2 separate regions of the Homo sapiens genome follow, and region 1 is linked to region 2. Evidence: promoter capture Hi-C in 16 types of primary human blood cells and fetal thymus (Javierre and others, 2016). All regions are on one chromosome and are shown on one strand. Each heading gives the region's core, a stretch centred on a gene start or on the middle of the fragment in contact. The rest is flanking DNA. Distances are from core to core; before and after follow the strand shown. Region 1 overlaps NDRG4 (NDRG family member 4). Region 2 holds the start of GINS3 (GINS complex subunit 3).

Region 1 (3,576 bases), core at 873-3,372, 110 kb before region 2:
TCAGAGCCATGCGCACCGCCACCTGTGCTGTGGGAGTTTCTGCTACTGGCCTGTCTCCTGGACCATATGGGATGGCAGGCCCTGGGTCTCTCTATTCTCTATTGTTTTGTTTTCTTAGCACCATGCACACAGCAGGTGCTTAATATTTGTAGAAGAATGAGAAGGAGGGCACGTGAGTGAGGGGGCCTGGCCACCTTCCTGCAGGGCAGGGCAGCCCCTAAAGGGGGCTCCAAGGAGCACAGCTTGAAAACCACAGGCTCATCCGACCTCTTCCTCATTTTGCAGACGTCAACATCAAGGCTGGGTTACTGGAGTCAGGGATGTCACTAACACCCCCAACATTCCCAAGCGGGAAGCCCCCAGGGGAGGAGGAAAAGTGGAAGAGCCCAAGGCCCGGAGTCTGAAACCCTGTTCCCCTCTGCCCCTCACAGGGTGTGACCTTGTGCAGGAAATGACCTCCTTTGAGGCCCAATATCGTGCCCATCTACAAACCAGGGCAAGGGTGTTGTCTGCCTGCCTCCCTCAGGGGGCAGTGTGCAAGGGCCCCCACTGGGGTGTGCTGGGTCCCAGGGCTGCTGATCCCACCCGCACCTGTTGTACATGTTCCAGAAGAGCTGCAGGTTGGCCTGGTTCACCACGTTCCCAATCTGCTGCCGGTAGCTCTGCACCAACTCTGTGTTGTTCACCAGCTCCTCCTAGGCCCAGGGAGATGGATGGAGGCATGCAGAGGGGCAGACAGAGGGACGCAGGCTTAGAGGGGGCTGGCAGATGTCACTGCCAGAGTGGCCCTTGCCCCACTCAGCAGGCAGGGGAGACAGGGTGGGGGCAGGTAGGAGGTGTGGGGCCTTGGGAGGGGATGTCTGTCTTTCAGATGGCTTAGCATCTGGAGTGAGCCAGGTCAGATGCCAAAGACACCCGCCTGCCTCCTACCGAGCCAGCTGGGAGGGGCAAATCCCAGATCACCCCAGATCTGCAGAAGTTCCCCCCCTTACCTGGCTGAAGAGGTGGGAGAGCACCGTGTCGGGTAAAGTGCTAGTTAGGCCGGAGAGCTGCAGGGAGCAGGGCGCCAGCGTGAGTGCCGCCCCTCACCCCACCCTAGGTATACCCACCCCACCCCCGGTCACCACACACACCTTGGTGGCAGCCCAGTCTATCCAGCCTTTGCCATTGGGGTCGATGTTCACCAGCACCAGCCCCTCCACCAGGTCGGGGAAGATGAGCTGCAGTAAGAGGGGAAACAGGGCCGGGCGGGGCCAGGATGGGTGCAGATGGCAGAAACACTCTGTAAAGTCTTCAAGGTGCTGCTGATCAGCCACCCGGCTACAGCCGGGTCTGTGCATGCACACCCATGTCCAGATGCCCCTGCCTGTCCTCCTCTCACTGAACCCTTCACAGTTCTTGGATTTATTTAGAATCTCTATCATTGTTTCCACCCCTACACACACACAGACACACACACACACACACACACACGCTCTTTCAACAGAATCAGCTCTTAATATATTTTTGAAGTGCAAAATTGAGTATTAAACATCTTAAAATCTTAAGCATGTTGTTTTTTTGCTTTTATAGAGAATGAAGCCCTGGCCAGGCGCCGTGGCTCACGCCTGTAATCCCAGCACTTTGGGAGGCCAAGGCGGGCTGATCACCTGAGGTCAGGCATACGAGACCAGCCTAGCCAACATGGTGAAGCCCTGTCTCTAATAAAAATACAAAAATTAGCCAGGCGTGGTGGCATGCACCTGTAGTCTCAGCTACTTAGGAGGCTGAGGCAGGAGAATTGCTTGAACCAGGGAGGTGGAGGTTGCAGTGGGCCGAGATCATGCCACTGCACTCCAGCCTGGACGACAGAGCAAGACTCCATCTCAAAAAAAAAAAAAAAAAAAAAAAAAAGAAAATGAAGCCCTCATGATATAAATTAAGAAAAAAACAACCTTTTCAAAGTCTGTTTTGCCGTAGGCATTGCAAAAGAGGTATTTTCTTTTCAACTGTTAGACTGTGCTTAAAGAAAAACAGCATAACCACATCAAGCTTGTCTAGGGTGGCAGGGAATGGCCTCCAGTTAACAAAATGATTAAGTGCTGACATTGCAACTGGAGTTGAAAATTCTTGGTCATTTCTTTTGAAGTAGTAAATGTCTTCGATCGTGAAAAATTAGTCTTTTGGGTTTTTGTTTTTTTTTTTTTTGCTTGTTTTTAGAGATGAAAAGCTTGTGAATTCCTACCCAACAATGATTTTTTTTATTTTTTTATTTTTTTGAGACAGAGTCTCGCTCTGTTGCCCAGGCTGGAGTGCAGTGGCGCGATCTCAGCTCACTGCAAGCTCCGCCTCCCGGGTTCACGCCTTTCTCCTGCCTCAGCCTCCCGAGTAGCTGGGACTACAGGCGCCCGCCACTACGCCCGGCTAATTTTTTGTATTTTTAGTAGAGACTGGGTTTCACCGTGTTAGCCAGGATGGTCTTGATCTCCTGACCTCGTGATCTGCCCACCTTGGCCTCCCAAAGTGCTGGGATTACAGGTGTGAGCCACCGACAATGATGTTTTTGAAATGTGCCTTCTTTAAACCTCCCAACCATAATAAAATTTTTTGCTAAAAAAATTATTCATGTTGAAATACCATGGCAATTAGTGAAGGACGATCCTTATTTAGTGGCTAGAGCAGTTAGTTGTATAGTTTGTTGCTACTAGAAATTCTGGCTTTGGATAATAGTTTAAGCAAGTTATAGTTTCTAGTCTCTTGAGAAAACTATATGGAGAAAGGAACCTCTTTTTTAAAAAAGTTAATTTCCCTGGAGGAAAAAAGAAAAAAGAGGTTTTCTACATAAAGAGGAGGTGGGAGGAGGAGAAGCGAGAGCAGGGACACTTCCTCAAGGCTGAAGGGTTCCCCCCAGTCCCCACCACTGGGACATCCCTGGCTTGCCCTGGTGTTTGGGGTAATGGGGGCATGGGGAGACTCACTGCAAACTTGGCCAGCACATAGGCTCCGGCGCCCACTCCGATGCCAATCACATACTTGAACCTGGTGCAGAGCAGGCTGGTCACTCTAGGGCTAGGGGTGCCATTTCCCATACATGTCATCCAGAGCAGGCCCTGCCCATAGCCTGAAGCCCTCAGCTGGAGCCAGGTGGCTCTGCAGTTGGGGTAGGCACCCCTGGGCCCTAGCGCAGGGGCTGTGCGGGGACTCACCCGAAATGCTGCACCACGCTGGGGAGCATGGCAGCCAGCTGCTCCATGGAGGGGAACTGGTACCTGCAGGCAGAGCAGGAGGTCAGGGCCCAGGTGTGGCCTCAGGTGCAGAGCTGGAGACAGGCAGAGGGGGCTCAGGGTACCTACCCCTGAGGAAACTGCGACGCCCCCACCTGTTGTCCAGGGGCATCCACGTGACACACCACAAAGTGCTTGGTGATCTCCTGCATGTCCTCGAAGTTGAAGAAGGTGTTGAAGCATAGTTTGTCTGCAAAGACACACTTCCACTATGGCTGAGCAGAGGGGCCGGGGGACTGGAAGGAAGGCCGGGCCCCCAGAGGGCAGGCAAGGCAGAAGTGTAAGCCTCGGGTCCGTCGGGGAAATGGAGGCC
Region 2 (3,376 bases), core at 134-2,633:
TTTGACTTTTTTTTTTTTTTTTTTTGAGATGGAGTCTCACTCTGTCGCCAGGCTGGAGTGCAGTGGCACAGTCTCGGCTCACTGCAACCTCTGCCTCCTGGGTTCAAGAAATTCTCCTGCCTCAGCCTCCAGAGTAGCTGAGATTACAGGCGCCGGCCACCACACCCAGCTTTCTAGTAGAGATGGGGTTTCACCATGTTGGCCAGGATGGTCTGGATCTCTTGACCTCGTGATCCGCCCGCCTCAGCCTCCCAAAGTGCTGGGATTACAGGCGTGAGCCACCGCATCCGGCCTATTTGACTTTTAAAACGTTGGTTATGTATTACTTTGATAAAAATTAACTTGAAACAAACAGACCAAACAATAAACATCGTTCTATACAAAACTTAGGTGAAACAGGATATCCAAATTAATCATTACAAGCCATGTTCCTGGGACAATTTTATATTTGAAGCCATATGGCCTTGGGTTCCGAATCCCAGCTCACCACTAACTGAAGCCCTGGCCAAGTGACCCAGCCTTTCTGGTTGCTGAAGGATTAAAGGGAAAAGCTTACTCCCCACACCCAACCATGCTGCCACTAAGTAAGCCTCAGTAGGGCTTACTGATCCTGTCATCATTATGGAGGAATGAATTTAGCAACTTGGGGTTCCTACTTATCACATGCTCTTACAGAACCCAAAGCTGTTTTAAGGCAAACATGATCAGAACTCTAATTCTTAAGTATTCAGCTGGAGCCAATCTTTAAGCATTCAACACACGTTGCATGGGGTAGGGGGAAGACACTAATTTGGACAGTTTCAAAAAAGAAATCAATGTTGGAGGCTGCCTGGCGACCTAGGATAAATGTAGTTTCACCACAGATGGCGAACAAGAAGTCTGGAGACCACCCCGAGCGCGAAGGGACCCCCGCGGAGTTTCCGAGAAGTCGTTAGCGCCTTCGGCCCTGGCTCCTCGAAAACTACAAATCCCAAAGGGCAGCGCGCCCCGATGCGGCGTCCCAGGGCCGAGGGGCCCGCCGGGAGCTGCAGTCTTTCCGGGCAGGACCCCGCACCCAAAGGCTCACCTGTGGGACCGCGTTGTCAGTCTCGGCGCCTGCGCTCCGCTCCAGGAAGAAAGCGCCAAGGCGAGGCATGGCGGTCTCCGTGCGCACCGGCAGCTTCTCGTGGGACATCAGGATGTCGTCCAAAGAAAGAAAGTTCTCCTCAGGCCCCAGCGCACCCGACTCCACTCGGAAATAAGCCTCTGACATGGCGGCCACTTGAGCTTCTCCGCTTCCACTCGCGTGATTCGGAGGAGCCTCAGGAGTTAGGGGTGTACAAGACGGGGAAGCGGAGACTGGGCAGGATGGTTGGGGTCAGGAAAGTGGATTGAAACTCGTTTCCCGCGCCCGGGGACGCATCAGACAGGAGCAGTCAATTCGGGCGGTACCGCCCAGGCAGAAGCAATCGATCAAGTCTGCAGATTTAGAGCAGCGGGACACGGCTGGGGAGCGGTAGGTGGGGGCGCCGGAAGTTCTCTTCCCTCCGCTTGCTGCACGGTGTGGGAACGTTACGAAGAAGCTGGAACGCTCGTTGAAGCTCCTGGACCCATTTGTACTGGATTGTGTTCATGTGATCCTTAACTATTTATATGAAATTAAAAACACTTTGCAACACTTTTAGGGGTTTAAAATAAAAGCATCTTGTGCCCTTCACTCCAGGCCTAAGTCCGACCCTTTCCTACAGTTTTTTTCACTATGCAACTCCGTTAATCTTAGTATTTGAAAGAAATGTTAAACAAACAAAAACTTCCAGCACTATCCCCAGCGAGTTATTATGGTCTAGATGATGAACTAGTGTGTTGTATTTTGTTAGTATTTTGGTGGGGGTTGGACGGGGTGGGTAGAGGGGTGGAGCACTAGACTGCACATGGCTTGCTAAGGTTGTGAGTATACTTCAGGGTGTCTTAGCTCATCATCAACTGACAATCTCCTTTTGTGGCTCTGAATTTAAATCCCTAAAAATGGAAATCCAATTGGTCCAGTTTATTGATTGGTCCAGGTACGCCACAATGGTCATAGATCTCCAGCCACCCTGTAGATGGGGGTGCCTGTGTTGGGTGCGATCACTATCCAGTGACCAGGGGAAGGACCATGGTCGCATAGTACCAGGTTTGGTGGCTCTCCTCAGCCAGGGCTATGGGTGGCGGCATATTGTTGAGAGATGCACTACAGAACTTACTTCGTCTAGAGCATTTCTGGGGCTACTGGAGCCGGGAGTAAAGGGTGTGTGTGAAGGGAGGTGTGTATTAACCATGGATTTTAGTTTCTGTTTTCTGTATTTTATGATGCTTTGACATCTTGGGGCCTTGGGGACCTGGGGAGGAATTGCCCCTTTCAGAGTTAGCTAATTCCTAGAGATAGCAAACAACTTGCTTGTGAACACCCCTTTCATTTACAAACCAACCAACCCAAGCCTATATCCCCACACCATCTTTATCCATCTCACACACCAATATTTTCCCTGCCCCAAGTCACTGTAATAAACCACCCCATGGCCAAGTACCAGACAACTAAAATTCACCTCTATATCCCAGAGCTTGCCAACATTATTCAAATTATTCAATCCTAAGCTTGTTCAGACTTCCCTTCCCTGCTTCGCCCATTCCTTCCCACGGCAATAAAGGCTCTGGGCTTTCTCCTCGCTCTCTCTACCTCCTCATTGACCCTAATACTTTCTCGTGTGGCCGTAGGCACAGCCCCTTCTCTTGAGAACTATAATAAAATTTTCAAAGGCATTGGCCACTAACTCATTGATTGTCATCACCCAGTCACCTTTATAAATGAAATTCTGAGGACAATGAAAACAAGGTGCAGTGGGGTGGAAAGGAATGGCCAAACTGTGGAAAATCTTGGTACCATTCTAAGGAGTTAGGCCATTCCATAGAAAATGGGAGGAAAATGTAAGGCAAATAATAACATAAATCTGGGCTTCAGGAAGAGAATTCCAGCAGTAGATAAAGAAGAGAGAGATTAGATGCTTGGAAGCTGTTCAGTGGGCAGTATTTGGCAACCAATTGGATATAGGAAGTGAAGTATAGTGAGTAGTCAAAAGATTCAAGTTTTGAACGTGGCTGACCAGGTGGATGGACATGTCATGAATAGATACACAGAACACAGGAATAGGGGCAGCTGGAGGGAAGGGATGAGTTCAGTTTGGGACACATGGTGTCCAAGAGCTACTAGACAGGAAGGTCTGCAGCCCAGTGGAGAAAGCAGCCTAGAAGCTTTAGAGAGGAGGCACACTGAGAGGCAGTTATATGAAGGTTTTTTCCTTTTTCATATTTTAAATGTTCAGTTTGTGATACAGTCCAATGTAAAAATAAACACAATCTG

What was found. The method cuts DNA at HindIII sites, captures the fragments that hold promoters and counts their contacts. A CHiCAGO score of 5 or more calls a contact.
Region 1: a contact is called between a fragment that was not itself captured here and the fragment with the promoter of GINS3 in region 2, in 2 of 17 cell types (naive CD4 T cells and total CD8 T cells). The highest score is 5.5, in naive CD4 T cells.

What each region holds. Positions count from the first base shown.
Region 1 is chr16:58,504,031-58,507,606 of GRCh38, reverse strand. NDRG4 (NDRG family member 4) reads right to left here. Exons shown (of 15, transcript NM_001242835.2): 3 at 3,333-3,453; 4 at 3,186-3,248; 5 at 2,958-3,018; 6 at 1,134-1,220; 7 at 993-1,049; 8 at 592-695. Among named protein-coding and RNA genes, the nearest start is that of NDRG4, 5.7 kb to the right of the region's middle. The HindIII fragment of the contact is 178 bases long and covers 2,034-2,211 here.
Region 2 is chr16:58,390,478-58,393,853 of GRCh38, reverse strand. It overlaps GINS3 (GINS complex subunit 3), which reads right to left and starts at 1,383. Exons shown (of 3, transcript NM_022770.4): 1 at 1,067-1,383. The coding sequence starts at 1,252. RefSeq lists enhancers at 590-1,166, 1,071-1,560, 1,167-1,744. The HindIII fragment of the contact is 2,062 bases long and covers 554-2,615 here.